Regions from separate parts of the Homo sapiens genome. Here regions 1 and 2 are each linked to region 3. Evidence: promoter capture Hi-C in human tissues and cell types (Jung and others, 2019). All regions are on one chromosome and are shown on one strand. The core of a region is centred on a gene start or on the middle of the fragment in contact, and the rest is flanking DNA. Distances in the headings are between cores, read along the strand shown. Region 1 overlaps ZNF302 (zinc finger protein 302). Region 2 overlaps GARRE1 (granule associated Rac and RHOG effector 1). Region 3 holds the start of WTIP (WT1 interacting protein).

Evidence for each region. The method cuts DNA at HindIII sites, captures the fragments that hold promoters and counts their contacts. A contact is called where the count stands out against the background at its distance.
Region 1: a fragment that was not itself captured here is called in contact with the fragment with the promoter of WTIP in region 3 in 2 of the 25 tissues and cell types used here (mesenchymal stem cells and pancreas).
Region 2: a fragment that was not itself captured here is called in contact with the fragment with the promoter of WTIP in region 3 in 1 of the 25 tissues and cell types used here (pancreas).

Annotation. Positions count from the first base shown.
Region 1 is chr19:34,679,379-34,682,844 of GRCh38, forward strand. ZNF302 (zinc finger protein 302) reads left to right here. Exons shown (of 5, transcript NM_001289187.2): 3 at 3,399-3,466. Among named protein-coding and RNA genes, the nearest start is that of ZNF302, 3.4 kb to the left of the region's middle. RefSeq lists an enhancer at 1-425. The HindIII fragment of the contact is 3,661 bases long and covers 387-3,466 here.
Region 2 is chr19:34,321,827-34,325,833 of GRCh38, forward strand. The region is part of intron 3 of GARRE1 (granule associated Rac and RHOG effector 1); the gene reads left to right. Among named protein-coding and RNA genes, the nearest start is that of GPI, 41 kb to the right of the region's middle. The HindIII fragment of the contact is 5,735 bases long and covers 1-4,007 here.
Region 3 is chr19:34,479,990-34,484,278 of GRCh38, forward strand. It overlaps WTIP (WT1 interacting protein), which reads left to right and starts at 1,769. Exons shown (of 8, transcript NM_001080436.2): 1 at 1,769-2,652. The coding sequence starts at 1,986. RefSeq lists enhancers at 842-1,496, 1,497-2,152, 2,153-2,807. The HindIII fragment of the contact is 21,139 bases long and covers 1-4,289 here.

The DNA.
Region 1 (3,466 bases), core at 967-3,466, 200 kb after region 3:
ATTGTTATATAAATTCCTGTCATTCCGCAACCTAAAATTTTTCAGTGGTTCTAACTGAGTCACTTCTGCAATGACCTATTTGTACAATTAGGCCATTACCTCCCTGATCCCACCTTCCTTCTCTGCCTCCTCATTCCTGTGCGCTCCAGCCTCTGTCACCAGTTGCTGTGCCATCCACGTGGAATATTCTTCCCCCACATACGCACAAGCTTGCATCCTTATCTCCTTCTGTGTTTGTTCCGTGGTTACTTTCTCAGAACAGCTTCCCTGAAAGCCTATTTGCAATTGCAGTCACCTTCCCTAGCGCTTCCACTCCTCCATCACTGCTTTGTTGTTTTCCACAGTGTGTGTCACTCACTAGCTGATGTACTGTATGTTCAGTATATGCACGTGCTCATTGTCTGTTCCTGGTGGGAGGAATGCTTTTTCTTCTTTGTTGACTGTTATAGCGTCAGTACCCAGAGTGTTACCTGGCACCAAATGGATGCTTAGTAAGTAATTGTGGAGTGAATAAGATGAGTAATGAAGAACTGGTGGGGCAGAATCATGGCATGGAAGGTGAAGCTTGCACAGGAGGGGATGTAAGTAGCAGATGTACATCTTGGGTGAAGTCTGTTTTCATGGAATAATTAAGATAATTAGAATTGAAAAACTGGTGTGGTAGTGCATGCCTGTTGTCCCAGTTACTCGGGAGGCTGATGAGGTAGGAAGATTTCTTGAGCCCTCTGGTGTAAGCCTGTAGTGAGCTATGATTATGTCACTGCACTCCAGCTTGGTGACAGAGCAAGAACCTGCCTCTTGAAAGAAAAAACAAAGTAAAGGCTAAAGTGAACTAATGCCAAAACCATTCATTGGTTCATCTTCTAAACACTTATGAAGTACCTGTTAGGAAGAGTTGTACATGGATTTTGGTGTACACTGACACACAGGACTTCATGATCTAGTGCAGTATTGTCTAAGAGAACTTTCTGCAGTGGTGGAAGTGCTGTGCATGTGTACTGATCAGTACGGTAGCCAACAGCCCCATCTGACTATTGAGTACTTGAACTGTGGCTTAAGCAATGGAGAAAATAAATTTTAAATTTTATTTAATTATTTTATTTTTACATTTTAATTAATTTAAATGTTGTAGCCAAGTTGGCTAGTGGCTCCTGTATTGAAGATTGTGGCACTGGTAGAAAAGTAAGAAAGCATGGGAAATTTAAATAAGTGCTAGGATAGATATCCTATGTTCTTTTGGGAACTGAGATGAGTGAACATCTCAAGCTGCCCAGGCAACTGAAGGGGAAGAAAGAAGCATCCCTGGCTCTAAGTTGTAATGACTGGTTTGTCAAAGATATGAGAAATGTTATTTTTATTTGGGATATAGGCAATTAACACAGTGGCAACTCCAATTAACAGGTGAATTTAGAAGAAATTTTGTGTAGCAAATTGAACTGTCAAATCTTACTTGAGGATAAGTTATTGTTTATTTGGAAAATGTGTGTTGGATTGTATCTGCTTGCCTATATAAAAAGATGAGATTTCTTCCTGTCCTTTTCATCTCAATAGTGGATCGCTTGTGAAGTGCATCAAGGTCTGATTTAGCTTATTCAGTAATAAAACTGCTTTCTTTTTTTTTCTACATTTGTGGAGAGGATTTTCTGCCATTGGAAGGCGATTCGAATTTTAATTATTTTCTCCAAACCTGAGAAAAGTAAATTCTGCCTTTAAAACCAAAGATCCATGTCACTGGTGAACATGCATGCAAAATATCCAAATAAAGTAATACAATACTGAATGAACTCTCAGAGCTAAAAAATTACCACAGTAGAGCAGTCTGTTTTACAAATCACAGACAGTAATAACTCTGTATTAAATGGCTGTACTTTTTGCACATATTATAATTTGACTAGCCAATAAGCTATTATTGAATATTTAAACTTCTAAAGTTTTACTATTTTAAATAATACTGTGAAATGAGTACTATTGAGAAGAATTTCTAAGCACATCTGTGAGCATTTCCTTAGAATATTTTCTTTGAAATCTACTCTTATTTTTTTCCCCTTCCAGGTCCTATTTAAGGACTGTCTATGGCAGGAGTCCTCAACCTTTTTGACACCAGGGATCAGTTTCGTGGAAGACAATTTTTCCACGGAAGTGGGAGGTGGTGGAGGTGATGGTTTGGGGATGAAACCGTTCTACCTCAGATCATCAGGCATTAGATTGACATAAGGAGTGTGCAACTTCGATCCCTTGCATGTGCAGTTCACAGTAGGGATTGCGCTCCTGTAAGAATCTATGCTATAGCTGATCTGACAGCAGGTGGAGCTCGGGTGATAATGCTCTTTCCTGCCACTCACCTCCTGCTGTGTTGCCCGGTTCCTAAAGGCCACAGACCAGTACCAGTCCGTGGCCCAGGTGTTAGACCCCTGATCTATGACATGAAACCATCCTTCAGTCTTTTCACCCAGGAGTCTCATATTTTAATTATTAAATGTTTGTCAGCACGAAGTTTAAGTATACACCACAAATATATTTTTCTTTTTTGTTTATGAATCAGTTATGTGTATGTTTTAGTCCATTTGTGCTGCTGTAACAAATACCCCAGACTGAGTAGTTTATAAATAATGAAAATTGACTTCTCATGGTTTTGGTGCCTGGGAAGTCCAAGATCAAGAGGCAGGCATCTGGCAAGGGCCTTCTTGCTGTGTCCTTTTGTGGTGGATGGGCAAAGAGACGAGAGAGAGGCAAAGGGGGGCCAGAACTCATTTTTTTAAATAAGGAACCCTCTTCCCTGATGATGACATTAATCCATTCATGAGGGCAGAGTCCTCAAGGCCCAATAGTCTCCTAAAGATCTAACCTCTCAATACTATTAGAATGGTGATTAAGTTCAATACATGCTTTTTTGGGGAACATAATCAAACCATATGTCTATCAGTCTTTAATATTAAGATGTCTTTTTTTTCTGAACCCATTTTTTGTGAGATTTAGTGAATCTTTCTGAGTATCATATTTGAGAGACAATTGCTTTAGCCTTATTTTTAATTACTTAGCTAGCATGTAAGCTATAAAAGATATAACTAAATACTTGACTCTGTGCTGTCAAATGTCAAATGTTGATTTTTAAAAATTCATATAATTCTAAACTTTTAACAAAATTACTGAAGCAAAGCTCTCATATTTGTCTCTCATTCTTATTGTATAAAAATTCTAAGCACATAACTGTCCCCTTTATTGTATAATTCCAACTACATAACTGTCCTATTATTACTTACCTGACATCACATTCCCAGTCATTGTCACAGCTCCTGAATCTTGTTCCATTTCTTCCACAAGCAGGCTAATTTTACCCCTTCTTCAGTGACAGAAGAGGCCTGGGCTATGGCTGAGCCTAAATATATTTGCTATTTCAGGTGACATTTAGTGATGTGGCTATAGACTTCTCTCATGAAGAGTGGGCATGCCTAGATTCTGCTCAGAG
Region 2 (4,007 bases), core at 1,066-3,565, 160 kb before region 3:
ATATGTTTATAAAATCTAGCCATCATGCAAGAGCTAGACTGAGTGGTTGGCTCCCTAGTGGATAGAGAGCGCAGTGGTGTGGGATGGTATGGCATGGTCATCAGGGATAATGTGAAGGAGAATTGTGGGATTCTCCTCTCGTGGTGACAACCTCATGACTAAATGGTGGGCTGCAGGGAGCCGCTCCGGTGGGGGGATTCTAGCCTAGCGCAGGGTTGCTTTCCTAGTCACTCTGGTGTGGCATTCTCTATTCCTTTTCCACAGCCAGAAGAATTTAAGCTTAAATAAAAGGCAATCAAAAACAGCTCTGAAAAAGTCTGTTTTAAGGAGACTTTGCCTATAATCAGTGACATTTCTTTTGGGAGACAGAGTTTCGCTCTTGTTGCCCAGGATGGAGTATAATGGCGTGATCTTGGCTTACTGCAACCTCTGCCTCCCAGATTCAAGCCATTCTCCTGCCTCAGCCTCCCGAGTAGCTGGGATTACAGGCGCGCACCACGACGCCTGGCTAATTTTTGTATTTTTAGTAGAGATAAGGTTTCACCATGTTGGCCTGACTGGTCTTGAACTCCTGACCTCAGGTGATCCACCTGCCTTGTCCTTCCAAAATGCTGGGATTACAGGTGTGAGCCACCATGCCTGGCCATTAGTGACATTTCTTGTAGGCATTTTAATACTTATTTCTTTCCAGTATGAGAAATAAAAAATAAATCTTAGAAGTTGAGACTTTAGGACTTACTGCTCCATTTTACAGAGTAAAAGATAATTTTCTTTTTTTTGAGACGGAGTCTTGCTCCTTCGCCCAGGCTGGAGTGCAGTGGCGCAATCTCGGCTCACTGTACCCTCTGCCTCCCGGGTTCAAGCAATTCTCCTGCCTCAGCCTCCTCAGTAGCTGGGATTATAGGCACCCGCCACCACGCCCAGCTAATTTTTGTATTTTTAGTAGAGATGGGGTTTCGCCATGTTGGCCAGGATGGTCTCAAACTCCTGACCTCAGGTGATCTACCTGACTCGGCCTCCCAAAGTGCTGGGATTACAGGTGTGAGTCACCCACCTGGGCCAAAAGATAATTTTTTTAAACTATCCCAGCAGGCAAACACAGATTAAAAGATAATTTATGGTTAGCAATATAGTGATTCATTAAATAATGTCTAGTTCAAATCATTCCATAATTAACTTGGCAAAGTATTTCTTTTCTTTTTTTTTTTTTTTTTTTTTTTTTTTGAGGTGGAGTCTCGCTGTTGCCCAGGCTGGAGTGCAGTGGTGCGATGTTGGCTCACTGCAGGCTCCGCCCCCCGGGGTTCACGCCATTCTCCTGCCTCAGCCTCCCGCGTAGCTGGGACTACAGGTGCCTGCCATCTCACCTGGCTAATTTTTTGTATTTTTAGTAGAGACAGGGTTTCACTGTGTTAGCCAGGATGGTCTCGATCTCCTGACCCCGTGGTCTGCCCGCCTCAGCCTCCCAAAGTGCTGGGATTACAGGCGTGAGCCACGGCGCCCGGCCTAGTATTTCATTTTATGTTTTGGAAATTTTCTTTAATAAAATTTTCAAAACATGATTTTTCACATGTTAATATTGTCCAGTCTCTAGTTTTATTATTTCAATTTCATGCCATTTGCTGCATTGTTGTCATTTCTTTTTAATTTTCACTGTTTTCTTGCATGTTTTGGTCTGTCTTTCATGCTAAAGACTTCCTAGGGCTTTCTTTCTGTTCATCAGAAAGGCCCTGGAATGCTAATTGGAGGCTGTGTGTGGGGGTGGGACCTGTTAGCTTTATTGTAGATGGCTAAGCCCTGAGGTCCAGACCTGCACCTTGTTGCCTTGTCATGTGACTTTACAACCCTCGGTGTCCTCCTGGCTGCTGGGCCCCAGCCTCCTGACTGTTCAGCTCACACACGTGAACCTAACACCTGCCTTGGTCCCCTGCTCCATCTTCTAGACAACTCATGCTGAGGACCAGCCCACAGGAGGAGGCCTCCGAGTTCTCTCTTGACGTCTTCACCTTGACCTTTTTTGCCACCATTTTAGTCTGTCCAGGCCTTTCTGCCCTTTCTACATTCCCTTTGCTTTCAGCCAGTGATGCCACCCCCTACTACACTGAGCAAATAGAATCTCCCTGATGGCAGCCCTTCTTCCTCATGTGGCCAAGCCACCACCACTCCTGCCATCCCTCTTCACAACCATCTTTTCTTCCTTCCCCTGCCTCATGACAGCAGAGGAGGTGCCCTCTCCTCCTGTCCAGGCTTGCCCCGTGCTGGCCTTGCCCCCATCCTCGAGGGCCCAGCTTCTGTGGTGCGACCTAGTGTTTTCTCTCCCTCATCCTCAGCCTGTTCCCACCAGTACACAAAGATGCTTCCCACAGAAAAGTCCACTCTGCCCTGCCCTGTTTCTCTGCTCTTTTCTCAGCCAACTTCTTGGAGTAGTTGTCTACCTTTTTTTCACCTTTCATTCATTCTAAAAAATTACTATTTTATTTTTACTGCACCTTGTGGCTCCTTACTGCTCCTGGCACACCCCGTGGACAGTTTACTCAGAGTAGTCTAAAAAGTAATTATTATTGAAGTATTTCAGGCACATAGAACATTTCACACCCATCAGTGTATCTTCCTTTTAGCTGCCTGCCATATTTGCTCATGCCTGTTACATATTTTTAACAGAAAAATATCACCAGTGCACTTTTTTTTTTTTTTTTTTGAGACTGGGTCTTGCTCTGTTGCCCAGGCTGGAGTGCGGTAGTGATCACAGCTTACTGCAATCTTGACCTCCTCGGCTCAAGCAATCCTCCTGAGTAGCTCAGACTATAGGCATGCACCACCATGCTTGGCTAATTATTTATTTTATTTTACTTTTTATTTATTTTTTTAAAGACAGGGTCTTGCTATGTTCCCAGGCCGGTCCCAAGCTCCTAGGCTCCTGCACCCGGTCTGTAAATGCACTTGAATCCCTTTTGTACCTCTCCACTTTCTTATTCATCCCTTTGTCTCTAGAGATAACCTCTGTTGAATTTGAAGCGTGTGATCCTTGTGCATATTTTAATATTTTTTCCGTATATGAATGTATCTATACATAAGGTATTATTTTACACAGTCTGAAACTTTATATACATAATGTCATTCAGCTTGCTGAAATCTGGCTTCCACTCCTATACAAGAACATGCCTTCTCTTATCAAGGTCATTGGTGCCTTCTTCCATGTTTTCAAATCCAGGGAACCCTTTCAACAACTTTCAGCAGCTCACAGCAGTGTGGAGAATATTCCTCCTTGGAAATACTCTCAGCTTGTGACATCCAAGAACCAACCTTTCTTTCCTCTTGGGTCATCCTTTCTTCATCTAGTTTACTGGCTTCTCCTTCCTCAACACAATTTCTGAATGTGAGTTTCTCCAGGCTCAGTTCTAGCTGCCCTTCTCCCTAGGGGTTCTCCATCCAGTCTTGGGACTGAAAAACCACCTGTGTCCTTGGAGGGGGCTCAAATGTGTGTGATCAGTGAGCAGCCCACTTCCTGTGGGCTTCAGGCCCCTGAGCTCAGCTGCTACCGGGGGTCTCACAGGTGGCTCAGGCGTAGCCTCTCTCCACTCACCTGTTCCTCCCTAGACCCTCTCTATGCTAGTGAGTGGTGCCATCCCACACTGGCTTCACTTGAGAAACCTGAGATTTATCCTTCAGCATTTCCGTCATGTCTACACCCAGTCCAATCCTTAAGAAAACCCGGCAGTTCCCACCTCCAAAATCTTATCCCAGATCTGTCCCCTTCTTCCACGTCCTTCATCGCTACCCTTGTTCAGGGAATCGTTACTTCTCCCCTCCCTGTCTTGCTCGCCTTCATTTTAAAATTGGATGATGTCGCTTCTCATTTCCTTAGGGTAGCATGTGGACCCCTCAGCACGACCTGCCTAGACCTGCCTAGTCTGGCTCCTGCCTTGATGGCCAGCCTTATCAGTGGCCACCCTGCCCTCGCTCACTGGGCTCTAGTTCCTTGGATGTGTCTTTCTTTGTTACCTTGGATC
Region 3 (4,289 bases), core at 519-3,018:
ATGTTGGGATTATACGACACGGTTGTGATTGGATTATTGTCTGCATTTTTGATAACTTCCCTTGAATAGATGTTTAGCAGCAGTATTACTGCTTCTAAGTTTCGTGTTCGTTTGTGCGGATGTTGACACCGCCAAACTGCTCTTCCCAAAAGGATATCCCAATTTGCACTCATACCAGTAGCATATGTGCAACTGTTTCACCACAGTCCTGCCAATATTGTAATTTTTAAATAGTAGATAATGCAGTCCATGAAATGTGATATGACTGAACTGGCTTTTCCTTTCTCATTTGAAAGGTAGACCATTTTTCATGTCCTGGCTTCCCTGGGTATTTGCTCTCCCAAATGCTGGCTTCTAGACCCCGCACGGAGTCTCATGCCTGTAATCTCAGCGTTTTGTGTGGTGGTGTGCGCCTGTACTCCTACGTACTCAGGAGTCCGAGGTGGGAGGATTGCTTGAGCCCAGGAGGTTGAGACTCTGGGGTGTGTGTGATCACTGTGAGCTGTGATCACACCACTGTACTCCAGCCTGGGGGACAGAGCGACACCTTGTCTGAAAAAAACAAAACAGCGCAACTCCCCCACCCTCCGCGCACACGAAATGCTTGCTTCCACTTCCCCTACCCTGGTGGGGCAGGGGCTGGAACTCCGCAGGCTATGGGAAGGTGCTGGGGTTAGCGGCCCCAGCGGGTGCTCAGTGGTGTTGAGGCCACACTGCCCTGGGCGGTCTGGCCGGGACAGTTCCCGTGCGGGCTCCCTGCGCGCTGAGCCACTGTAGGCGCCTTCCCGAAAATCTCTGAGCAGAGAGGGCCTGGAAAACAGTACTCTCTCACGCAACACTTTTCTTGGATCCATCAGGCCCTGACAGATAACGGTTTGGTTTTCTTCCCTATAGCCGTGTGACTTGTACAAGGGATTTTAGTTGTGTCCTTGGGCACGAAGCCCTAGTCACCTCTCGATTCCCCACCTATGTGGCCCCTATGGCCCCGCTGGTTCCAGGACCTCCCCTCGAAGCCTCACCCACCACCCTGGATGCAGGTGCTGGAAAAGGGAGGAGTCCCCATATTTCACGGGGACTGCCTGTGATGGCCACAGGGGAGGCTCGCCGCCCACCGGCTCTGAGCCTGAGGCCTGCTTCTAGCCTGGCCTTGGGGGCCTGGGCGAAGCGACCCAGCGCGAGGACCAGTCCCCAACCAACCCGCTCCTAGTTCTGGGCGCCTTCCCCAGCAGTCAGATGGGGGCTTCAGAGGCCGGTGCGCGGCCACATGGCCCCGGGCCAGGCAGGGGGTCGTGGGGACGCATCTGCGCTAGGCGCACAGTATTCCTGGGCGCGGGACGGGCGAAGCGCCGTGGGTTCCAAGCTGAGCTGGGTCGGCCCTGCAGCGCCGGAGAGCAAGGCGGCGCAGGGAAGGGAGATGGGGCGGGATGTGGGGAAAGCTGTCGACTGCTTGGATCTCTCCGGCCCGGATGGCGCCAGCTGCCTCCAGCTCAGCCTGCGGAAATCCGAGCTCTTCCCAGCGGCCCGACGGCCCGGGCGCCCCGCAGACCCTGGGCTCTCCCCGCGGTGCCTCCGCCGCCCGCCCCTGCGTCCTGGCCCGGCCTCCACGCCCCTCCGAGGTCCCGGCGCAGCGCGGCCGCCGCCACTCCCCCCACATTCCAGAGGCCGCAGCGCCGTCTCCTTCCTCGCATTCCTGCCCCCGCAAAGGAGTCCCTCCGCCCCGCGCGAGGCCGCGGCGAGGAGGGGGCGCGGCCCGGCGCCTGGGAGCTTACATTCCTCCGCCGCGCGCGCCGCCGAGCAGGGCGCCGCGTCCCCCGGCCCGCGCGTGGCCGCCGGAACGACCCCGGCCCGGCGCCGGCCCCGCCCCGCCCCGCGCCCAGGGGTCCCGGGGCGGGCTCCGGGCTTCGGGCGGACGATGCGGCGGCCCGGCCGGAGCGGCGGCGGGAAGCGGAGGCGGAGGTGACGCGCCAGGGCCGGCGGGCCGGGCCATGCAGCGCTCCAGGGCGGGCGCGGACGAGGCGGCCCTACTCCTGGCCGGGCTGGCCCTGCGGGAGCTGGAGCCCGGGTGCGGCTCTCCCGGTCGGGGGCGGCGGGGGCCGCGGCCTGGGCCTGGAGACGAGGCGGCGCCCGCGCTGGGCCGCAGAGGGAAGGGCAGCGGCGGCCCCGAGGCCGGGGCGGACGGACTGAGCCGCGGGGAGCGGGGTCCCCGGCGCGCGGCGGTTCCGGAGCTCAGCGCGCAGCCTGCGGGCAGCCCACGGGCCAGCCTGGCGGGGTCCGACGGCGGCGGCGGTGGCGGCAGCGCCCGATCCAGCGGCATCAGCCTGGGCTACGACCAGCGCCACGGCAGCCCGCGCTCCGGTCGCTCGGACCCGCGTCCCGGTCCCGGGCCGCCTTCGGTGGGCAGCGCCCGCTCCAGCGTTTCCAGCCTCGGCTCCCGGGGCTCGGCCGGCGCCTACGCTGACTTCCTCCCGCCCGGCGCCTGCCCCGCGCCCGCTCGCTCCCCGGAGCCTGCGGGGCCGGCTCCCTTCCCGCTGCCTGCACTCCCGCTGCCCCCTGGCCGGGAGGGCGGCCCAAGCGCGGCCGAGCGGCGGCTGGAGGCGCTCACCCGGGAGCTGGAGCGGGCGCTCGAGGCGCGCACGGCGCGGGACTACTTCGGTGAGCTCGCTCGGCCCGGCAGTTCCCTGCGCGCATGGCTGGGGTCCGGGGTTCCGAGACTGCCTCGGGTAGGCGGCCGGATCAGCGGAGGAGAGCACGGGGCTGGCTGGGGGTGCAGCAGTGCACGGGGTTGGGACGAGGAAGGTGCATCCCCTGGGGACTGGGGAGCGCAAAGGGTGAGTGAGTGCGCCTGGATCCCCAGCAGCGGCTTCACCCCTGCCTCTGGGTCCCCCGACACACGAGGGGTTCTGGCCGAGTGAGTTGATGTGCGGTTCCTAACTTAACAGGCAAGTCAGGTTCATGGGCACACTGAGCCATTTTCTGATAATTTTTTCTTCTTTCTTCTTTTTTTTTTTTCTTTCTTCTTTTTTTTTTTTTTTTGAGACAGGGTCTTCCTCTGTCGCCGAGACTGGAGTGCAGCGGCGCGTCCTCGGCTTACTGTAGCCGTCGCCTCTCAAGCTGAAGCGATCCTCTCGCCTCAGCCTCCCGAGAAGCTGGGACTACAGGTGCACACCACCATGCCCAGCTTTTCTTCTTCTTACTTTTTTTTTTTTTTTTTTTTTGTAGAGACAGAGTCTCCCTATGTTGCCCAGGCTGGTCTTAAACTCCTGGGCTCAAGCGATCCGCCCTCCTCGGCCTCCCAAGGTGCTAGGATTACAGGCTTGAGCCAGTGCGCCCGGCCTGATCTTTTCTTCTTTGCGTTTGGTGCTCTCATTCTATCTGATCCTTTCATGCTTCGTGATGAGCAGAAAGGGGTGCTTCCCCGTCTGCCCCGCCACGGTATGGGTGTGGACAGCAACCGGGAGATGGAGTGGCCCAGGTACCACCGGATACCGCCTGACCCAGGCTTTGGTGATGGTAGCGGCTGGAGAGGGAGACTGTGTGAGGGAAGAAAAGCCCACTTTGCGGGAGAGGGGAACCGTGCCAGTCACACGGGGCTGCCCTCGCCCGGACTGTGCTGTGGACATAGGATGTTTCCTAAAGGAATCCTGCTGCAGGTGCATCTGCAAAGCCCAGCAGCCTCACAGCCTCCACTTCCCAGTGTGGCCCAGGCCCCCTGATCTCTAGTTCTTGGGACAGCTCTTGGGGTGAGATTGTGAGCGGGGCAGAGGTATACTGTGGGGCCTGGGGCGAGAACTTCCCAACCCGCCTTCTGTATTAAGCACCTGGCTTTGGTGGATGGATGGTCACCATGCCTGGGACCGTGGCTGTCCTGGGGTTTGTGTCTTTGAGCGTTCAATGGTGTCAGCAGCTCACGGCTGCCCTGAACTGGATCTTTTTTTTTTTTTTTTTTTTTTTTTTTTGAGACGGAATCTCGCTCTGTCGCCAGGCTGGAGTGCAGTGGCGTGATCTTGGCTCACTGCAACCTCCGACTCCCTGGTTCAAGCGATTCTCCTGCCTCAGCCTCCCCAGTAGCTGGGATTACAGGCATGCGCCACCACGCCCAGCTAATTTTTGTATTTTTAGTAGAGGCGGGGTTTCACCATGTTGGCCAGGATGGTCTTGATCTCCTGACCTCATGATCCGCCTGCCTCAGCCTCCCAAAATGTTGGGATTACAGGCGTGAGCCACCGTGCCCGGCCCTGAACTGGATCTTGAGGGGTGAGGAGTCTGTCAGTGAGGGGCCAGGTGGGGGC